Linked DNA regions of Homo sapiens: regions 2, 3, 4, 5, 6 and 7 are each linked to region 1. Evidence: promoter capture Hi-C in 16 types of primary human blood cells and fetal thymus (Javierre and others, 2016). All regions are on one chromosome and are shown on one strand. Each heading gives the region's core, a stretch centred on a gene start or on the middle of the fragment in contact. The rest is flanking DNA. Distances are from core to core; before and after follow the strand shown. Region 1 holds the start of NSUN6 (NOP2/Sun RNA methyltransferase 6). Region 2 overlaps MLLT10 (MLLT10 histone lysine methyltransferase DOT1L cofactor). Region 3 overlaps SKIDA1 (SKI/DACH domain containing 1). Region 4 overlaps MINDY3 (MINDY lysine 48 deubiquitinase 3). Region 5 holds the start of MINDY3 (MINDY lysine 48 deubiquitinase 3). Region 6 has its middle 9.0 kb from the start of PTER. Region 7 overlaps NEBL (nebulette).

The links. Contacts are between HindIII fragments. The CHiCAGO score rates a contact against its expected background, and 5 or more counts as called.
Region 2: a fragment that was not itself captured here is called in contact with the fragment with the promoter of NSUN6 in region 1 in 2 of 17 cell types (non-activated CD4 T cells and total CD8 T cells); the score reaches 5.4 in non-activated CD4 T cells.
Region 3: a contact is called between a fragment that was not itself captured here and the fragment with the promoter of NSUN6 in region 1, in 1 of 17 cell types (activated CD4 T cells). The highest score is 6.1, in activated CD4 T cells.
Region 4: a fragment that was not itself captured here is called in contact with the fragment with the promoter of NSUN6 in region 1 in 3 of 17 cell types (total CD4 T cells, activated CD4 T cells and naive CD4 T cells); the score reaches 6.6 in total CD4 T cells.
Region 5: a contact is called between the fragment with the promoter of MINDY3 here and the fragment with the promoter of NSUN6 in region 1, in 9 of 17 cell types (naive CD8 T cells, total B cells, non-activated CD4 T cells and 6 more). The highest score is 20.4, in naive CD8 T cells.
Region 6: a contact is called between a fragment that was not itself captured here and the fragment with the promoter of NSUN6 in region 1, in 2 of 17 cell types (non-activated CD4 T cells and total CD4 T cells). The highest score is 7.7, in non-activated CD4 T cells.
Region 7: a contact is called between a fragment that was not itself captured here and the fragment with the promoter of NSUN6 in region 1, in 1 of 17 cell types (M2 macrophages). The highest score is 5.8, in M2 macrophages.

Annotation. Positions count from the first base shown.
Region 1 is chr10:18,650,096-18,653,101 of GRCh38, reverse strand. It overlaps NSUN6 (NOP2/Sun RNA methyltransferase 6), which reads left to right and starts at 1,515. Exons shown (of 11, transcript NM_182543.5): 1 at 1,515-1,973. The coding sequence starts at 1,899. RefSeq lists an enhancer at 1,276-1,375. The HindIII fragment of the contact is 3,002 bases long and covers 1-2,137 here.
Region 2 is chr10:21,548,066-21,551,071 of GRCh38, reverse strand. The region is part of intron 3 of MLLT10 (MLLT10 histone lysine methyltransferase DOT1L cofactor); the gene reads right to left. Among named protein-coding and RNA genes, the nearest start is that of MLLT10, 15 kb to the right of the region's middle. The HindIII fragment of the contact is 179 bases long and covers 1,448-1,626 here.
Region 3 is chr10:21,521,477-21,524,482 of GRCh38, reverse strand. SKIDA1 (SKI/DACH domain containing 1) reads left to right here. Exons shown (of 4, transcript NM_207371.4): 2 at 612-800; 3 at 3,003-3,006. Among named protein-coding and RNA genes, the nearest start is that of SKIDA1, 2.7 kb to the left of the region's middle. The HindIII fragment of the contact is 1,892 bases long and covers 369-2,260 here.
Region 4 is chr10:15,824,448-15,827,453 of GRCh38, reverse strand. All of the region lies in intron 8 of MINDY3 (MINDY lysine 48 deubiquitinase 3), which reads left to right. The region is part of intron 2 of LOC124902383 (a long non-coding RNA gene); the gene reads right to left. Among named protein-coding and RNA genes, the nearest start is that of MINDY3, 35 kb to the left of the region's middle. The HindIII fragment of the contact is 8,423 bases long and covers 1-3,006 here.
Region 5 is chr10:15,858,954-15,861,959 of GRCh38, reverse strand. It overlaps MINDY3 (MINDY lysine 48 deubiquitinase 3), which reads left to right and starts at 1,453. Exons shown (of 15, transcript NM_024948.4): 1 at 1,453-1,754. The coding sequence starts at 1,661. RefSeq lists an enhancer at 1,662-1,711. The HindIII fragment of the contact is 10,196 bases long and covers 1-3,006 here.
Region 6 is chr10:16,426,557-16,429,562 of GRCh38, reverse strand. No RefSeq gene overlaps it. Among named protein-coding and RNA genes, the nearest start is that of PTER, 9.0 kb to the left of the region's middle. The HindIII fragment of the contact is 9,091 bases long and covers 1-3,006 here.
Region 7 is chr10:20,853,462-20,856,467 of GRCh38, reverse strand. The region is part of intron 9 of NEBL (nebulette); the gene reads left to right. All of the region lies in intron 2 of LOC102725112 (a long non-coding RNA gene), which reads right to left. Among named protein-coding and RNA genes, the nearest start is that of NEBL, 42 kb to the left of the region's middle. The HindIII fragment of the contact is 9,153 bases long and covers 1-3,006 here.

The DNA.
Region 1 (3,006 bases), core at 266-2,765:
ACCATGAAATTCAGGCTACAGAAATTCCTTTGGAAATGTCTGATTTAGACATTTATCACTTTCAGATGTTTTAGCCATGAAAGAATCTCATGGATTTATTGAAGAAATATGCTATGGTCAAGGACAAGGTATTGGCTCTAGAAGCCAAATTACTAGTCTTTATCCTGGCTTTTTATTTGTGAGAACATGGAGAGTTGTTTCAACCCTAGGAACCTTGATTTACTCTTTAAAACAGAGAAAATGGGCTGGGCGTGGTGGCTCACGCCTGTAATCCCAGCACTTTGGGAGGCTAGAGAGTCAGATCAGTTGAAGTCAGGAGTTTGAGACCAGCCTGGCCAGCATGGTGAAACCCCGTCTCTATTAAAATTACAAAGATTAGCTGGGCCTGGTGGCACATGCCTGTAATTTTAGCTACTCGGGAGGCCAAGGCAGGAGAATCTCTTGAACCAGGAGGTGGAGGTTGCAGTGAGTCGAGATCCCACCATTCCACTCCAGTCTGGGCGACAGAGACTCAAAAAAAAAAAAAAAAAAAGAGCAGAGAAAATGATAAACAACTTGCAGGTTGTTGTGTGGTATAATGGTCATTCATTATTTTCTACTCTTTCTGGTAAAGAGTTGGTGTGTCATGGAAAGTACCTGTTCTATGTGTGTGTGTCTGTGTGTATAATTCGGTGTGAAAATTAAAGAGAAAAAAACAATAAAAAACCCTTTCCTATACTTATGTGTAAATTACCATGGTGTGCTGCAAAAAACATATGTCAAGGTGATAGAATTATTTTGACTTTCCTGTACAGTTATAAAATGACTCAGTGAGTTTGGTTAGATATCCTCGTTCTTTGAATCTATATCCTTGTCTGCTTATGATGAAAAAAAAGAAAAAAAAATAATGGCGAGGGTCTTCCAAACTCTAAAGAATATGTCAACTATGATACAAGTAGCAGTTAGCCTTATAACTAACTGTAAACACTGTCTGTGGGTTTTAAGTTTTACCTGAGCATTGGATATTAACAGACCATTAGCCCAACTTTCAAAAATATGAACCCTATGAACTTCACAACTGAAGTCAGATCTGTATGCCTGAGAGAGGTAAAATCATGTCATGAAATCAAACGGTGGCTGATGCGCCCAAATTCTGGCCTCATCCTCTAACTGGAGGACATCTGGCAGGACAGCAACTGGGCTGTGCCTTTTTTCAGTCCAGCAACATCTTCCACTCAACCCACGCCATTTGGCTGTTTCCCCATTGCCCCTGGCACCTAGCCCTCCGGTACCGGGAACTAAATATCTTTGACCATCCCGCCCGCGGGGTCTGCCTACTTAACCTGAGGCAGGTGAAAGAGCCTCACGCAGGGTTAGGAACCTCCGGGGGCGTGGCGTAGCGTAACGCAGTGTTGGGGAAACTTGCGGCTGTGGATTGGGGGACCGGAAAGGGAGGGGTGGGCCGCAGGCGCCGGACGTGACGTAAGCCGGAAGCGACTTTCCGCCGAGAAATAGGGGGCGCGTGTTTGGAAATTGATAGAAAAGATAAAGGGACCGAGCTGCTGTCAGCCTGGCTTACTGATCTGCGTCCGTTTCACCACGGATTCAGTTACTAAGCATTTTTTTCTTTTTTTGGTTCTTTGCAACGTGAGTGGCATTGGCTCAGTGATTTCCATGAGCATCTCTACCAGAAAACATTGCCTCGATGAGGTGTGGTGGAAGCCCGGCAGCCCCTTCTAATCGGCTAGGCTTGAGAAAGCGTGTACCTCTGCATTTCCGAAATTAACTCAGCGTGATCGGCAAGATTTTCCTCAGCATCTGGTGTCAAGACACTCGTCACTATTAATTCGGAAAGAAAAAAAAAAACAAAACACCGTTTTCCAGCATTTCTCTTGGTGGAGAACTAAACAACAGGAAAAATGTCTATTTTCCCTAAGATATCTTTGAGACCTGAGGTTGAAAACTATCTTAAGGAAGGCTTTATGAATAAGGAGGTAGGTCAAGTAAAGATGTTAGTTGATATTTTGCAAAAACTCAAATATTCGCACACTCGAGAGAAATAGAAATAAGTATAAAGGGAAATCTTGACAGCCGTCGTTCCTTACTACTTGTCTATCAAGTGTAAAAATACCAATATGTTTCTACAGGTATTAAAGCTTACTGAGATACGAAGTGAATAAGGTATATGTTTTAACATTTAGGAGTGGAAAAGAAGGGAAAAAAGGCATGTGCCTGTCAGGCATGGCACAAAGGGTTACAAGGATGAACAAGAAAAGGTCCCTGTCTTCAAGAACTCGAATCGAATTTTAAAAGAGCGCTGGCTCTGGCACTCAGGTGAAAAGGTTTCTGTAATTTGTTGAGTGCCTCTTAAATGCCAGCAGTTGTGCTAGGAGATTTGCATCTTTAATCTTCACAATCTTTTTTTTCTTAGAGGTTTTTCCTCTTTTAATAGACTTGAGCAGAAAACTGCTCAAGGAATTGTGTAACTGATCCAAGTTGACACAGCTATCAAGTAACTATTGAAATCTGGAGGGAAAGAGTTCAGGTGTAATGAACAAAGGTACAGCTTTTGAATCTCAGGCACATGATTTGCATTCTAGTGCTTTGTAAATTACGTGGCTTAACCTAGATTTTTCTCTTCTGTGAAAAATTGAGAATGGTTAAAAATATCTTGCCAGGTTGTTTTAGGATATTAAACGTAAGTGAATACAACTAGCATTGTTTTGGCATGTAAGTCCTCAAAAAATGTTAATTTTATTTGCTAAAGTCCTCAGTAAATGTTGATTATCTTTGATTGCAAAGCCTGTTGTCTATTCCATTTTACCATGCTGCCTCTAAGCAACTTTGTTTTTTTTCAAATCTTTAATTTTTTAGTCAAGTTAAAAATATTTTACCAGGTTGTTTTAGGATATTAAACGTAAATGAAAACAACTTGCATTGTTTTGGCATGTAAGTCTTCAAAAAATGTTAATTTTGTTTGCAATTGGCAGTGCCTGCCACAGAAGTCCTCAGTAAATGTTGATTGTC
Region 2 (3,006 bases), core at 288-2,787, 2.9 Mb before region 1:
GCCTGTAATCCCAGCTACTCAGGAGGCTAAGGCAGGAGAATCACCTGAACACTTGAACCTGGGAGGCAGAGGTTGCAGTGAGCTAAGATCGTACCACTGCACTGGGTGACAGAGCAAGACTCCATTTCAAAAAAAAAAAAAAAATTAAAGATAAAAGAAATCTGAAAACAATTTTTAATTATGTGAATAAAGGTAACTCTCCAGGTGGCAGAAATAAAAAAGAACTTTAAAGCTAAATAAGGCCGGACGCCATAGCTCACGTCTGTAATCCCAGCACTTTGGTAGGCTGAGTCAGGCAAATCACTTGAAGTCAGAAGTTTGAGACCAGCCTGGGCAACATGTGAAACCCCCGTCTCTACTAAAAATACAAAAATTAGCTGGGCTTGGTGGCACCCATCCGTAGTCCCAGCTACTCATAAGGCTAAGGAAGGTGAATCGCTCCAACCCAGGAGGCGGAGGTTGAAGTGAGCTGAGATTGCATCACTGCACTCTAGCCTGGGTAACAGGGCAAGACCCTGTCTCAAAAACAAACAAAAAGCTAAAGGAATCAGTATTAAATTGAAGCTGGGGCAGTTAACGAAGCTATCAGAAACAATACCTTAGAGGGTAGGACTGACTATGACAGCAACATAGACTAAAGATATGGAGAAAAGCTCTAACTGGGTTCCCTATATAAGGACAAGAGCTGATAAGGATCCATGTCATAACAGGAAGAGACTCTAGAAAACCATGTGCTGGACTACTAAGACTAGGGAAGCTGCACAGAAATTAGATGCTTGCTCCAGATGTGAGTAGATGACTCACTCTAGAAATCCAAGGGGATACTGAGGGAAGGTATGGGGCCCAAAATCTATTATCTAAAGGATGTAGAAATCCAAGCCAAGAAACAAACTTAGAGACTGGCCTGGAGCAATGAACCCCATTAGGCAAACTGTAACAGACTCTGCAGCTACCAATCCAAGTCTATTTTCTCCTTCTTCCCTACTAACAGAACTCTCACTTTAACCAGTTTATCAATGGGCCCAACTTTATGACCACATTTTGCAGGCTCAGTAACAATTAAGAGCCAGTAAAATTAAGCCTAAGTTGTTGAGTGGAGCCTCAAGGACAATTAGTTTAAGAGTACAACTCAGAGCTAGGCGCGATGGCTCACGCCTGTAATCCCAGCACTTTGGGAGGCCAAGGCGGGCAGATCACCTGAGGTCAGGAGTTTGAGACCAGCCTGGCCGACATGGCGAAACCCCATTTCTACAAAAAATACAAAAATTAGCCAGGCATAGTGGCACACACCTGTAATCCCAGCTACTCGGGAAGCTAAGGCAGGAGAACCCGGGAAGTAGAGGATCGCGGCCACTGCATTCCAGCCTGGGCAACAGAGCAAGACACTCTCTCAAAAAAAAAAAAAAAAAAAAGAGTACAACTCAGTTAGAGGACCACACTTGAAGCTTACCCTCTCCCCTTCTTTCTGCCTGGGACTTCTTTTGTAGTCACAATGACTGCAGTTCCAGCTGCCATGCTTTGACTATGGGATAACCCTGAACATGAAAACTATGTGCTAAGGCTGATACAGAAGGAAGATAGAAAAAGCATACTCCCTAGTGACTTAAGAGAGCTGTCATCGAAGCTTCAAAATGCCTTTTGCTTTTAAGTAAAAGAATAACTGGACGGGTGCAGTGGCTCACGCCTGTAATCCTAGCACTTTGGGAGGCCAAGGCGGGCGGATGACGAGGTCAGGAGATCGAAACACAGTGAAACCCCATCTCTACTAAAAATACAAAAAATTCGCCAGGAGTGGTGGCACATGCCTATAATCCCAGCTACTGGGGAGGCTGAGGCAGGAGAACTGCTTGAATCCGGGAGGTGCAGGTTGCAGTGAGCCGAGACTGCGCCACTGCACTCCAGCCAGGGTGACAGAGCAAGACTCAAGTCTAAAAAAAAAAAAAAAAAAAGGAATAAGCTCCTGACTTGTAGAAACCATTATAATCTGGTCGGCCAAACACAATTCTTAAAAGACAGAGAGCAAAGGCAAAAACCCCACAGTGACATCTTCACAACTCATGGTAGAGGAACAGGAATCCCAGGAAAGACAACTCCACCTGAAGATTAGCCTGCAGTCAAAAATTACACAATATATAAAGACATCTATCACCAGAGTTAACAAAGAATTCCAAAATCTGAGAATCTTTACAATAAGTATGTTTTAAATGTTCAAATAAAAAAACGAATATAATTCTTCAAACAATAAAGCAAGATACCCTGAAAAAAGAGACAAATTGAAAAATAAAATCACACAAAAATTCTAGAAATTTACTCAGAAAAAAATTAATTCACTGAATTAAAAATAAGCATAAATCTGAAGACAGAGTTAAAGATATTATCAGTAATGCAAAGATAAGACAGAAAGGCCGGGCACAGTGGCTCACACCTGTGATCCCAGCATTTTGGGAGGCAAAGGTGAGTGGATCATGAAGTCAGGAGATCAAGACCATCTCGGCTCACATGGAAAAACCCCGTCTCTGCTAAAAATACACAAAATTAGCCGGGCGTAGCGGCGGGCACCTGTATTCCCAGCTACTTAGGAGGCTGAGGCAGGAGAATGGCGTGAACCCGGGAGGCGGAGCTTGCAGTGAGCCGAGATCGCAACACTGCACTCCAGCCTGGGCAACAGAGGCTCCGTCTCAAAAAAAAAAAAAAAGATAAGATAGAAAATATGAAAGACAAATTAAAAGACATGAAAAACAGAATGAAAATCCCAAACATATACCTAACAGTTCTAGGAAAAGAAAAGTTAATGAGAAGGTTACAGTATTTGAAGAGACAGAGTAGAAAATAAAAAATGGAAGGACACTGAGTCCTCAGAATGAAAAAGCAGACCAAGTCTCAAACAGGATAAACAAACTCAAAAGATTGTTTATCAACCAACAGACACCAGAAGACAAACTAGAATAAAATCTTTAGTTACAGGAAAATAGCTATTATCAAAGGATTCAAACTAGCTTCCAAGAG
Region 3 (3,006 bases), core at 65-2,564, 2.9 Mb before region 1:
CTCCAGAAAACTTACAAATACCCCGAAATTTTTTACCATTGTGTTTTTGCACCACATCACCAAATAGTATTTGCCAAGAAATAATAGATATGTCTTTGAGAAAAAAAAATTTTTTTAAGTTTATACTTAGCAATGCGCTGCTTAGACAGATGTAGTAAAAGGCAGGTTTGTATCGGCATTTAACGGAATGAGTGCGTTTTCCATAACGTTTGTTGTGCCATGTGTTTTTTTAAAACACAAACAAAACACTACCCCAACTGAGAAAGGAAATAGAAGTTTGAATTAAAATGTTGTGGAACAACTTTAAAAGAGACGTTTACTTGAAATTTATTAGTGTAAAAATTGGCCTCAGAAGTGAAAAGTAAGCTTTTCAAAGTTAAAAGACTTAATTTTCACCCTATGATTCCATAACAAAAAAGCGAATTTTCTGGTTAATATGTGATACTGTCAGTGTTGAGTGTCCAGTCTTTTGGGTCTTAGTGTCCAAACCTTGCTCAAATCTGATTATGATGTGATTTGCTGATGTCATGAATATGAAATGATACTTGTGTATCCATAAATTCGAACTTGTGATTTTTTTTTTTTTTTTTTTATCTCCCGCTTTTTTGTAGGTTCCCAGTAGCTGCAGCAGTGAAAGACAGTGATTGGCTCCAGTGCTCCCAGAAGGATTTGGGCTGAAGCCAGGGGAACAGAACCAGAAGAGGATTCCCTTTCCAGAGACCATCAGGCTCCTCATGTCTTGTCTCTCCTCTCTCCCCTCGTGGTGGCTCAGGATTTCAGTATGGCTGAGCAGCCCATAGGTAGGCCTCAACACTTGGTGTCACCACTTCAGTCTCTATATGTTTGGCCCTTGTGTAAAATAAACAAAAACTTGGGCAACCCTAACAAATTGTGGTTCTGGATATTTGTGTATTATTTAATATCTGAAGGTCAAACTCTACTTTCTCTGATTTTTTTTCTTTTGCATTCAGGATCAATTGTGAAAGGCCCATGTGTCTCATAGGAAAATATTACAACAAAACAAGATAATTGGGGGGAAAGGCGGTTGCAGTAGGAAAAGTGGCTTTTCTTTGATAGCATTTAATTGGAATTAAAAGATTCTTGAGCTGTAAACATTCTTTATTTATTCAGCACACATAAGCAGGCATTGTTTTATCACCATCATAATTATGGTGTCCTTTAAACTGGCTGATAGCAGGAAAGATAAGGGAATGTGCCCACAGATTCAGATCAAGTCTCACTCCTTTCTTTTCCTCCCTGCCCCCTTCCCCCCACCCCATTCCTTCCTTGGTCACTAGGGTCCCCCACAGCCCTTGAGATGAGAAGAGCAGGAAGATTGTGGCCTAGCCGTTTCTTACATCATGAAAGTGATTTGTACCTCACTCTAATTTGATGCAATCTATAACCTCCTTGTCTCCTATGTTTATAACTGGTTTTTAGCTTGCAATATATGTTATCTGGAGGTGCCTATTGCTCACCTGTGTAAAATCTCATCCACTAGGATTTGTTGCTTTACCTTTGTCTAATTTAGAAAGCACACTCTTAGGGCTTTTTCAGAACAAAGCCTCACAAAAACCCCTTTACCTCCAAGGATTTGCAAATTTATAAAGGCTGCATTGAATTCAAGATGGGTCAGGGGGCAAAAAAAGGGTAGAAGGTCACTGCATTTTGATTATGGGTCAGTAGACAACATGGCATATACCCTGTGTCCCAAACTTCTGTTAAAGACAGGGTTTTTAAATGCCTAAGAACAGAGGGATGGGCCCTTTTGGAGACTTACCCTGATTTGTTCAAATGAACCAGAAAGAAAAAAAATTAAAGGAAATATACTAAGTTATCATTTGTTTCTCAATTTAGCCATTTTCTACTCCTTCATTCCCATTTTCCCATCCCAAAAAGCAGAGAAGATGTGATATTAGATAAACTTAGCTAAAGAACTGTTGAGATTTTATTGTCTTATATCCTCAACTAATTCAGCCATATGAGACTTTATTATTATTTTAAACTTTTATCTTGTGAATATTATAGTTACTTTTAGTTAATAGCACAAGGGGCTTTTATTCTTTTAACCAGCATACTTACATTGTTGAGGCCTTTGTGATGTTCCTTACTCTTTTCTGTCTGAATTCACTTTGAACAAAATGTGCCCAGCAATCACTAAAACAAACGTATATGGTGAAGAGCTGGTGGCGGGGGGGGGGGGGGGGGGGGGGGGGTGGCTGTGATCCTCATTTAAATTATGTATGTATGGGTGAAAGCTTGGAAGGAAAAGGATTATTTTAATGCTCTTCAATACTTTAATTATATGACAGTTGTAGTGTAGAAATGCAAAAGTACTCTTAGGTTTTCCTTCAGGTTTTCAAAAGAACTTTCCCCATTAGTAAACTACTCCTGCAAATTGCTATTGCATTTCCCAGCTAACCATTTAAAAGACTGTAAATGCCGTGTGCATTACTTCGCTCCAGAGGAAAGAGGTCAGACTGAATTGCAATGGTATTGAAACATAAAATACAGTGAAAATAAATCAAAATAGAGCATCTAAAGGTAAATCTAGCACATTCATATGGGATAAGTAAAGACAAATATGTTCATATTTTCATGGCCCTTCACTTTAAAAACTGAAAGTGCTGATTTTTTACAATAAATGCAGAAGTAAGTGGACATTAGGAATATATTTCAATCTCTATTTGCTAAAGAGGATTTTCCTTTTGCAAGCAGCTTTGTTTTCAAAGCTAAAGCACTTTTTACAATAGTGTGTAGATTAGGCATTCCTCACTGAGTAAATAATCACATTTAATTAAACTCAATGCATATCATACATGTGCCTAAATTCACAATAATTTCCTGGACCCACAGAGAAGGATATATATATATAAATGTTAATTTGGACATATCTATCTACATATGTACTTGCATTTGAGAAACATAGAAGTTGATATATCTTTTCTTAAAAAAATTTGAATACAGTCCATTATCTGAATTGGGTTCATCTTTGATTGTAGAGTC
Region 4 (3,006 bases), core at 323-2,822, 2.8 Mb after region 1:
TTCTCCTGCCTCAGCCTCCCGAGTAGCTGGGATTATAGGTATATGCCACCATGCCCAGCTAATTTTGTATCTTTAGTAGAGACGGGATTTTACCATGTTAGCCAGGCTGGTCTCGAACTCCCAACCTCAGGTGATCCGTCAACCTCGGCCTTCCAAAGTGCTGAGATTACAGGCGTGAGCTACCGCGCCTGGCTGGCTTTCATATTTATGAGGTTAAATCATTTGGTCTTTTTTTTAGATGGCTTCTATTTGGGCTTTTTTTTTTTTTTTTTTTTTTACTCCTGTTATATCAATTTTATGTGTCTCCCACCCCCAGATTTTTTATTTTCATTTTTTAGAGACGGGGTCTCGCTCTGTCACCCAGGCCATAGTGCAGTAGTGCAGTCATAGCTCACTGCAGCCTCTAAATGGGCTCCAGTGGTCCTCTTGCCTCAGTCTCTCAAGTAGCTGAGACTACAGACGTGCACCATCATGCCCGGCTCCACCCCAAGATAATATTCTCTAGTATTTTCCAAAAATGCTTTTGTGGGCTTTTTGTTTTTTAATGTTTGGCTCTTTAGTCTATCTGGATTTTGTATTTATGAATGGTATGAGTTTGGGATCTGCCTTTTGACTTTTTCTCAAAGAATTATCTAATGTCCTAATTCCAGTCAGTTCTCCACAGATAGGAAATACGTTTTTTGTTGAACACATTTTTCCATATTTACATGTTTTTATTCTATTCCACTGATCTTTTTGTGACTTCTTATGCAAAACTTCACAATTACATAGTTTTATAATATACTTTGATATTCATTAGCATGTTTCCTGATGTTATACTTTTACAAAATTGTCATAGTCTTTTCTACATTATCTATTCCAGTTGAACTTTCCTCCCAGCTCTTCAAGTTCCAGTTTTAAGAAATCTTTGAAGATTTGGATTGGTTACATTATATTTGTAGGTTATTTTGAGGAAATTATATCTTTACATATTATCTTCCCAACTAGATTGTTTTGTACATTCTTTAGTGAAAAATATTCAGTGTTTTATATAGATTATATGGTCCTGAATCCATATACTTGATTCTACCCCAGTTTTTGAAACCATCTTTTGCTTCTCCAATAGAACAGAAATAAGCTGCAGTAGAACTAATCAAATTAAATGCATTCTTGCCCACTCTTTCACAGGGGCTAGTGTGATATTTTTCAAACTCAGTGAGATCATGTTTCTCTCTCCCTTAAAACCATTCGATGGCTGGCTTCCCTACGCACTTAAAATAAAATCCAAACTCCTTCTAAGGTTCTCAGATCCTTTTGTGGTCTTTCTCCTCTCTACCTGCCATCCATCTTCATTTCGTACTATTCCATGTATGTTGAGCTAAAGTTTTCTTTGATTTTGATTTTCTGTAGATTAATTTTGTCATGGTCTCTTTTTTATCTTAAAGGAATTCTTCAGTATTTGTACATTATTTTTGTCCATATTGTTTATTTATTTTTGTATGCTTATTTGATGATTATTTTTATTTTATAATTTTCTTTATGGGATAGGGATAGAAGAGTCAACTCTTGTAATTCAGAAACCCAGAAGTTTCTTGGTTTTTTGTGGGTTTTTGTTTTGTTTTTATAAAAAGAAATCAGTATTACAGCCAGTCAAATGCATAGCTAATTGAAAGATGATGGACTCATACACAGAATAATGCATATGTTAATTAGCTCAGTTTAGCCATTCTACAGTGTATACATATTTCAAAACATGTTGTACACGGTAAATATATACAACTTTAATTTGTCAATTATAAAATAAACAGAAACGGATATTATAGTTAGGCCAAAAAATAGTCATGTTTCTCTGGTGCTTGTCTGGTTATATTCCACTTAATATGTGGAACTCCTAAAAATGCAGTCAGAAACTGAATGAGTTTTGATGGTTTGTTTCATTCTCTTTTATATAAGATAATCAGTTAGGCTGGGTGTATTGGCTTGTGCCTTTTAATCTCAGCAGTTTGGGAGGCCAAAGCGGGAGGATCACTTAAGGCCAGGAGTTTGAAACCAACCTGGGCAAGAAGGCAAGACACCGTCTCTGATAATAAAAGATAGTAAATTAATTCTGGCAAAGAAAACAAGAATATAATCACAAAGTAATTTGAATTTTTTTGCAAATGTAGAGTACATGCTTGGGACCAGAAGCATTTAAGATTTCGATTTTTTTCAGATTTGGAAATATTTGCATTTTTCCTCACCAGTTTAGCATCCCTAATCTGAAAATCTGAAATCCAAAATGCTGTAATGAACATTTCCTTTGAGAGTCATGTTGGCTCTCAGAATGCTTCAGATCTTGGAACATTTCGGATTTCAGATTTTCAGATTAGGAATACTTGAAAATAGACACTTTCAAGGCTTATTGAGAAAGTCTCCTACAAATAAATTCTATAAATCGTAACATGTGAGAATATTAAATCCTCACTGTATTACAACTTGGCATAAAAGTAAATTTTCCTAGTGTGATGCTCTTGAAACTATCATAAGAAGGTAAAAATGTTAAGTATATATTCTGTTTAAGAAAACAGGCATAATACATTTTTAAAATAATTACCATCCAGACTAGATGTCTAAGCATGTGTTTACTGATCAAATCTAAATAGTTCATTACCCAAGAATTATGAACAACTAGTTTGCTGTATTTAGTAACATGATATTATTATTAGACATTTGTTTAAAAGTCCAGGGAAATAGATGATGTAGTATCTAATTGTAACACTAGGTGGTGGTAACTGATTTTAGAAATTAAATTGTGAAACTGTTTCCCAATGTATGTATTCTTTTTTACATGAAAACATTTAGTGTTGCTTACATTTAAGAAGGAAAGGGAGAGAAAAGTTTGCGAAGATATGAAGTATCCATTTATACCTATTTGGGCTGTTCTTCTCCTCTCCCTTGTTTTGCTTTAACCTGAAGATTCTAAAACCTTTTAATCTCATGCCCTTTACACTCTTACGGATGATCCCAAAGCAAATAATCAATGTTTTT
Region 5 (3,006 bases), core at 204-2,703, 2.8 Mb after region 1:
ACAAGGCAAGGGATATTCTAAAGGGAATAAAGATCAAAAGGAATGCTATGGCTCTACTACAGGCACTTTGGGCAAGTCCCTGTAATTACAGTAAAGGGTACTGAAGAAATAAAATTAAATTAATTAAAATAAAATTAGAAATAACGTATAAATAGGAAAAAATAGCTAGTAATAAAGCATAAATTAACAAAACCTTATTTGCAATCTAAAAGATTTTAAATTAAGGGTTAATTTTAATTAGCCAAATGCAAGGGTATTCTACAATGAAACTGCATGTTTTTGAAATTAGAGAACATAACGTATTATACTAAAATACAACTGGCTAGAATTTATGGGTAAAAAAGTCAGAACTACTGTTGCATCAAATTCCCACAAAATGGCTTCTTGAGGTAAAAAAAATACCCACTGTTGCATAAATGCCTTCCATGTGCTAGGAAGTACACCAAATCCTTTGTATGTGTTACTTTTTCCATTTATTCCTTACAATATATGAAATGTATGCAATCTCCCTTTTAGAAAGAAAAAAGCCTAGGTAGATAGTAGGTAACTTGCTAGTAAGTGCAAAAGGTAGGAATATGGGCCAGTATGACCCACAGCTTGGCCTCTTAACTATTGCATTACTGCATCCCAAAGTAATATGGTTTCCAAGGAGTACAGAAACCTTACAGAACCAAAATAAAAGCATGTATTTTTTTTTAAATCAGATTTTGCCCTTTCGTTTTAAATTCAAAGCTCGGGCAATACAAGCCCTCTTTTTTTAAGCAGCACAAACATAAGTTTTCACATGAACTCAATTTAACTGCTAGTTAATGAGTAAAACCTAAACTTTAGTCCAGGTGTTGCCCACACACTCTGCAGTGTCAAAAACTGGAGATGAAAATGCTGTAACATTTACAAACAGGTTGCTCTGAATTTGTTTCCCTACAAATACCTTGTAATTCTGCGTTGCAGCTGGTGGAAGCATTTCTAATGCACATTATGCCACATTCTTTGCCATGTTTTTAGGTAATAGTTGGTCTGACTTTGATTTATTGAAGTACAGAGGCGGACAGCCTCCAGCTTATGAGAAGCGCCCTACAAAGGCACGGATGTTACCGCACTGTGACTCAACTATTGCCTTATAGTTCTAGTTTTGCAAAATTAATATTGAAAAATACAAGCAATGGGCATATGTTCTAATTCCTAGTGCCTGGGCCTCAGAGCCTCCAGCTTAGCCCAGAGCAGTGCGTAGAGGAAGAAGGTATTCCTGGAGTTTAGAAACACGCCGACGCCCCTTCCCAATACAAAAACTACCACCCCACCAAAGGGTCCCAGACAGTTCAGAAAGGTCAGAAGCTACTTCCACCGCTTTCCGTGCCTGTTTCCGCCTCCAATTTCACTTCCGGGGAGGGGACTTCCGGGCCCTCAGCCTTAAGGGGCGGGAGTTAAAGAGGAGTCGGAAGTGGCACCAGCACTTCCGGTACGGAAAACTCGCTGCTGCCCCAACCTGGCTTGACAGGCTTGGTCTCTGCAAGTGGCTCTCAGCCCCTTCTTCTTTCCTGCCTCACCTTCCAATTCGTTTGCCGCCGCCGTCCCGCAGCTGCTGTTTCCGGAGTTGCCCCTTCCCCATGTTCCGGGGCAGGAGTCCGCAAAGCGAAGATCCGCCCGCCGGTTCCTCATCATGTCCGAACTGACTAAAGAGCTGATGGAGCTGGTGTGGGGCACCAAGAGCAGCCCCGGTCTCTCGGACACCATTTTCTGCCGCTGGACGCAAGGTACCCTGGCGGGGCTCTCACACTTGCAGCCGCTGCTTCTTTTGCCCTGCGAGAGTCCGCCTGTGACGCCTCTCGCTCCAGCCCCTCGCGTGCCCCGCTCTCTGCCCCAGTCGCCGTGCTCAGCGCTGAAGCTGGACTTTCTAGACACGCCCTGCCTTGCCTTGGTGGGGAGAGTTTGAGTAGGAGAATGGTTACAGCTGCCACTAAATACCCGCAGCGCTCTTTCCATCCTCCGGGCTGCCCTTCGGCTGGGGAGGAGGAGAGGGTGGCCCCTTGCTGGGTTGCAGGGCGTGACACGGAAGATGCGCCCCGTGCCCCGGTGTCACTTTCTCAAGGGGTGCTGTGGCCTTCCGCATCTTTACCCCCTAACAGAGCTGTCTATTGGTGGTGGTTGGTCTATTTTTGGTGAGAAGGAGGGACGTCCAAGGGAAAGTCCAAGTGGCTAATTCCAAAAAGCAGTTTTTTGTTTGTATTGTCATTATGTGGTTAGGCGTGGTAGTCTGTGTATAAACACTGTTATTTGCTAAAAAGTGTACTCTTGGCCCAAAGTATCCCCGTTTTTTATATGGTTTATTATCTGTCACGGTTAAAAAAGGAATATGGATCATAGTACTTCCTCGGCCGGTATGCTTGTAACCCAGACAGGACTTTTACTTACATGAAGAGTCTTAGTACAAATAATAATGAAATAAAATAAGCATTTATTGAATTCTTGCACTGTAACAGGCTGGGCGCTTTATACTAGTAACTATCCCTAATTCTTAAGTTTGGATAGGCAAACAACTGACACATTCCTAAAGGTGACTTAGGAAAGATGATGATGAGGTTAAAACATAACCTTGAGTCAGAAGGATCAATAATTTATGTATGTAAAACACTATTATTATTAAAACATCTATTTAGGGAACACCTGTTCCCGAAATAGATTGGGCGGAATTTTGGCATAGTAAATATAAACCCCTATTTCAAAACGTGTATTTTGTAACAAAAATTCAGGATTTACGTAATCTCTCCCTCCCTCCCACATGTTTGTTTTAAGAGCTGGTAAAATTACAATTACGATGTATTGTTAAGTTGGGATATTTAGTCCCTCACTGTTGCTTTGCAGGCGAAAAAAATTAGTTGTAAAGGTAAATGACTGGGCCAAAGTTGCACAAATCGATAGAACTGGGAGTGGATTCCAGGTCTCTCGATTCCTAATATACCTCTGTTTTCATTATCTTCCTTTGAGTTCCCAAACCCTACATGTAAT
Region 6 (3,006 bases), core at 254-2,753, 2.2 Mb after region 1:
GAGCAGAACCCTCCCACCAACCCTAACATCTGATGTAAATATAAATGATATAAATAAAAGATGTAGGCCAGGCATGGCGGTGCACACCTGTAATCCCAGCTTCTCAGGAGGCTGAGGCAAGAGAATCGCTTGAACCCAGGAGGCAGAGGCTGCAGTGAGCCAAGACCTCACCACTGCACTCCAGTCTGGGCAACAGAGAAAGACTCTGTCTCAAAAAAAAAAAAAAAAAAGAAAGAGAGAGAGAGAGAGAAAGAAAGAAAAATGTAGTTTTATTGTGGTAAGTCACTGAGATTTGGGGATTATTTGTTACAGCAGATAGCCTACCCTAATTAATATGGTATTTGTCCTAGTAAGAGAATTTGAAGAACCTGTATGCAAATTGAAAGCCACCTTTCTTTAACAAGCCATTAATAACTAATATTAAATAGGTCCCAGGATGACTTCCAAATCCTTGGGAGAATTATTTAAATACTAGAGGCATCTATTAGCACACAATAATGTGATTATTGGTCTCTAATAAATACAATGTTGAGAGCTGGATTAATTAAACAGAAGGAATGAAACTCTCAAAATGATGGCCGGGAAGCTATTTATTAACTGGAAGCTCGAGCATGTGTGTCTGTGAAGAACGCCAAATGGTGGTGTTCCCATTGTTGAAAAACAATGTGGTCTGGAACCAAACATTGCAAGGATAACTTGAATTTATAAATCAAATTCCTTGACTTTTTATCTTTAAGTAATATGAATAATTTGTTTTCATTTGAAGGTCTTCTAAAGAAATTTTTCTGCCATGGAGTTAGTTAAAACTTCTAATCAGAAACTTTGTTTAATACTGTTTTTAGGCCGGGTGCAGTTGCTCATGTCTGTAATTCCAGTGCTTTGGGAGGCTAAGGCAGGAGGATCACTTGAGTCCAGGAGTTCAAGAGCAGCCTGGGCAACATAGGAAGGGCCTGTCTCTACAAAATGGAAAAACTAGACATTAGGCAGGCATGGTGGCACGCACCTGTGATCCCAGCTACTCGGGAGGCTTAGGTGGGAGAATCTCTTGAACCTGAAAGGTCAAGGCTGCAGTGACCCGTGATTGTGCCACTGCACCCCAGCCTGAGCAACAGAGCAGAGACCCTGTCTCTTAAAAAATAAAAAAAAGTCCTGTTTTTGATTGCACTATGTAAGGAACACAGGCCTTGGCAGCTTTAGTTACTAAAGAACTCCTCTGCATGTGTAGTTTGCAAAATTGTGTCACTTAGTAAATATTACCAGGATATATAAAAATATCTAGGATATATAAAAATATCTAGGATATATAAAAACATCTAGGATATATAAAATTATATATAAAAATAAAAATCATAGATACAATATATAAAAATTATGTTGCAGCTAAAATAACCAAAGAGTTTGATTCAATCTCCTAGCTAGAATAAAGGGGAACTATCAGAGTCTTGTCTTTGGAATGAATCTCCTGCCAGGGTGTGCTGCATCATGTGGATTCTCTGTGAACACGGGGGACCAGGCGGTGTAGACCAGTCCATTGGAAAGTAGCTCTGCAGTCAGATAGACCTGACTTCAATTTCTGGCTCCTCTCTTTTCTTGCTATGAGAACTCTTAATATCTCCGAGCTATGGTGTCTTCATATAAAGTGGGGATATTATTACATTGCCCTGGCCAACTCCAGGTTGTCTCAAAGATCCTTTTCCCTTTTCTGTCACACAACTAATTTAGTGAGGTTCATGGCCTCCCAGTTAAAGATGACATTGCCCAGCCTCTCTTGCAGCTAGGCATGGCCCTGTGACTAAGAAGATTAGGTGCATATCCCACCCCACTGGGAGACGATGAGAATTGAAGAAGCTGCCTGGAAGCCAGAGTTTAAGTGTTGAGGATGGCAGAAACCCTGTACCTTCGTAGGACTGGTGTGGGAATTAAATGACACACAATATGAAAGTGTCTTATTTGGGGTCTTTAGAAAAACACTGTGGAGTTTGCCAGACAAGAGAGGGTAATTAGGATTTAAGTACAGAGAAGTCAGAAATAGCAAACAGAATTGACTAAATAATCTGCTTTTAACTGAGGTCAGGAGTTCGAGACCAGCCTGGCCAACATGGCAAAATCCCATCTCTACTAAAAATACAAAAATTGGCCAGGTGTGGTGGCACGCAGCTGTAATGCCAGGTACTCGGGAGGCTGAGGCAGAAGAATTCCTTGAACCCAGGAGACAGATGTTGCAGTGAGCTGAGATCGCACCACTGAACTCTAGCCTGGGCAACAGAGCGTGGCTCCATTAAAAACAAAAAAAAAAAGCTGGGGATGGTGGCTCACACCTGTAATCCCAGCACTTTGGGAGGCCAAGATGGGCAGATCACCTGTGGTCAGGAGTTCGACACCAGCCTGGCCAACATAGTGAAACCTTGTCTCTACTAAAAATACAAAAATTAGCCAGGCGTGATGGTGCCGCACCTGCAGTCCCAGCTACTTGGGAGGCTGAAGCAGGAGAATCGCTTGAACCCGGGAGGTGGAGGTTGTGGTGAGCCAAGATCATGCCACTGCACTCAAGCCTGGGTGACAGAGGAGACTCCATCTTAGAAAGAAAAAAATAGTTCTTTTAGACAGAAGGGTAGGTGGGACTCAGGGTGTGGTAGCCTCAGCAATCACCATGCACGGAGCATCTGCCAGAAGCCCAGGATCCAAAGGTCAGGAGGAAGGATCCAACACCATGACTGCGGGCAGGAAAACCAAGTTATCAGTGCCCTGAATGGAGAGTCTAAGTGCAATGATTTAGGAATCTCAGTCAATATAGTGTCAACAACAATAATAACAGTGACAAAAATAACTATCATTTATTAACAGTCTGTTTGCCAGTCTCTATTCTAGTAGTGCTTTGTAAACATTTTAAAAGTTTACAGGCACATAATCCCCATTTTACTGACACTCAGATATGTGAAGTCTTTTTGCTCAAGGTCTCATAGCTAATAAACGGCTAAGTCAAGATTCAAATTGACATGGTTTGGA
Region 7 (3,006 bases), core at 218-2,717, 2.2 Mb before region 1:
TCTCTAGCCATACTTAAATTCAATTTCCTAGGGACATGGGGATTCATGTGTAAATAAGCCAATAAAAATATCATGGTGGTAATTTCAACATTTGGTGGCTGGAAGAAAGCGTGCCACTCCTATGCAATATTGCTTTTCAAGAACGTTGACCTTTATTTTATAATAACAGAGAAAAAAATCGCAGTCTAATATAAATTGTTTCTATCATCTCTTCAACAGAGAAAACACAGCAAAGTCATACGTTACTTATTTCATGTATCATATATAAAGTTTAGATCTTCATTTAGGTGGTGCTTTTGCCTAGAGGACAGATTTCTTTTTCCCCATAGACAAATTGTGATTGACTACTTCCTGGGAGAGAAAGACTTAAAAATGTGTTCCTTTTGAAGTGTCTCCTTACAAAGTTGTGTACATTGTATAAAGCTGTATACATTTGCTCAACTTTATTGTATATTAGAATGGCCTCCTTTATCTAGCATTTGTGAAGAAACAAAGAATAGCCTACTTTAACATTTTAATGTAAAAAATTGGAGTTGTGTTGATTTATAAATTAAAAGATTGAATAAGATTGCTCAATAAGAGATATTCTGCCAAAATTATCCATTTGTCACAGTAGCTATTGTTTTAAAGACCCCTAGATGTCTTTAGCAACATCAGAGTTACTTTTATTTTAACCCAAACTCTAAAGAGTGATATGAGTGCCTTAATTACTGTGTAAAATCATTCTAATTAAAGTTTTGGAAAACATTTTCCCCTGGAAAATGGACCTCTGGTAGTGTTGAGTTTCTTTCACAACTTTACATAAATTAAGAAATATATATTTTGTGTTACTCCGTGTATCTCCCACTAGGAGGTAGCAGAGACTGTTATATAAGGAAAGACACGCATTCGAAGTTCTTTTGCAGATCTTAATTCAATTAAGTTTTCCTTCGTTTTTTTTTTGTTTTGTTTTGTTTTCTTAAATAGGAGTTTCTGAAATTCTTTGTAACTAAAATCGATAATTGTGTTGGGAACAATATTTACTGAATTTTTCAGTATATATTCATTATTTTACATATATTTATATGTATTTGTTGTGGATTTTAACTCAGTAATGGACTATGTTGTAGCTTGTTACATTCATGATTATTTTATAAATACATATTACAAGATAACTTCTAATCAAATTATAAAGTCTGTATTATTATCTTTCTTTCCAGATTTTAACTGGTTAAAAAAAAAACACTTTTTTTTTTTTTTTAAGACGGACTCTCGCTCTGTCTCCAGGATGGAGTGCAGTGGCACGATCTCAGCTCACTGCAACCTCCGCTCCCAGGTTCAAGCGATTCTCCTGCCTCAGCCTCCTGAGTAGCTGGGACTACTACTACTAGGTGCACCCCACCACTCCCAGCTAATTTCGTATTTGTAGTAGAGATAGAGTTTGACCATGTTGGCCAGGGATGGTCTAGATCTCTTGACCTCATGATCCGCCTGTCTCTGCCTCCCAGAGTGCTGGGATTACAGGTGTGAGCCACCGCGCCTAGCCAAAAAAAGGCTTTTTTAAAAAAACATTAGAGGAGCCAAAATTTATAACTTGTTTCCTTCCATCACGATGTACTCTGTGGGCTAGGTGCAGTAGCTCCTGTCTGTAATTCCAGCATTTTGGGAGGCCAAGGCAGGAGGATGGCTTGAGGCCAGGAGTTTGAGACCAGCGTGGGCAGCGTAGTGGGACCCTAGCTCCACAAAAAATAAAGAAATTAGCTAGGCATGGTGACATGCACCTATAGCCCCAGCTACTTGGGAGGCTAAGATGGGAAGATTGCTTGAGCCCAGGAGGTCAAGGCTGCAGTGAGCCATGATCCCTCCACTGCACTCCAGCCTGGGTGACAGAGCAAGACCCTGTCCAAAAAAAAAAAAAAAAAAAAAAGTACTATATGAACATTTTCATGTCCTTCCTGGGGGGTGCTTTCCTCCCTGATTTTATTCTGGTTAGGTTTGGGGGAACATATATTGCAGCTCCCTAATTGAGTGGAAGCACCTGAGGCCAGGCTCCCTCTGGGGACTATTGCTTTGTCCCACTAGAAAGGGTAGCTCTCTTGTGGCAGGCCACTTGGTCATCTGTTCCATTCCTAGCACTGAGCTTTCTTCCTCTTTCACTCTGAAATCCCTGGAGTATCCCCTAAGATCAAAATGCAAATTTCCTTATGGCCAGCTCTTTCCCGCTCCCTTTCAAATACTGTTTTTGGATCCCTCCACTCTATTGCCATTTTTACTGGTACCCCATTGTCTAATAAGCAGCTATCTTTAGCTTCTTAAGTCTCTGTAGCCTTGAGTCTTTAAGAGCTACCATTTACTACTAAAGGTCTTTTCCAAATAAGGCAAAATAACAAAGTGTCCAATCTCCAATGATAGAAATCATGAAATAATTATTTTTAAAATTTTCTAATTTATAATTGTTATTGATACATAATGGTTGTATATATTTATGGGGTAAATGTAATGTTTTGATACAGGCATACAGTGTGTATTGATCAAATTAGGATAATTGAGGTATCCATCAGTTCAAGCATTTGTCGTTTCTTTCTGTTAGGAACATTTCAATTCCACTCTTAGTTATTTTAAAATGTACAATAAATTATTGTTAACTATGGTCACCCTATTGTGGCATTGAATACTAGATCTTAAACTCATTCTCTCTAACGGTATTTTTGCACTCCTTAACCATCTCCACTTTATCTCCTCTCCCCACCACTCTTCCCAGCTGCTGGTAGCCATCATTCTACTCTGTCTTCATAAGTTCAGCCTCCCGAGTAGCTGGGGCTATAGGTGCATGTCACCATGCCCAGCTGATTTCTTTATTTTTTGTAGAACTGGGGTCTCACTATTTTAGCTCCCACATATGAGTGAGAACATGTGAAATCTGTTGTTCTGTGCCTGGCTTATTTCACTTAACATAATGACCTCCAGTTCCATCCATGTTGTTGCAAATGGCAGGATCTCGTTCATTTTTGTGGCTGTATAGTATTC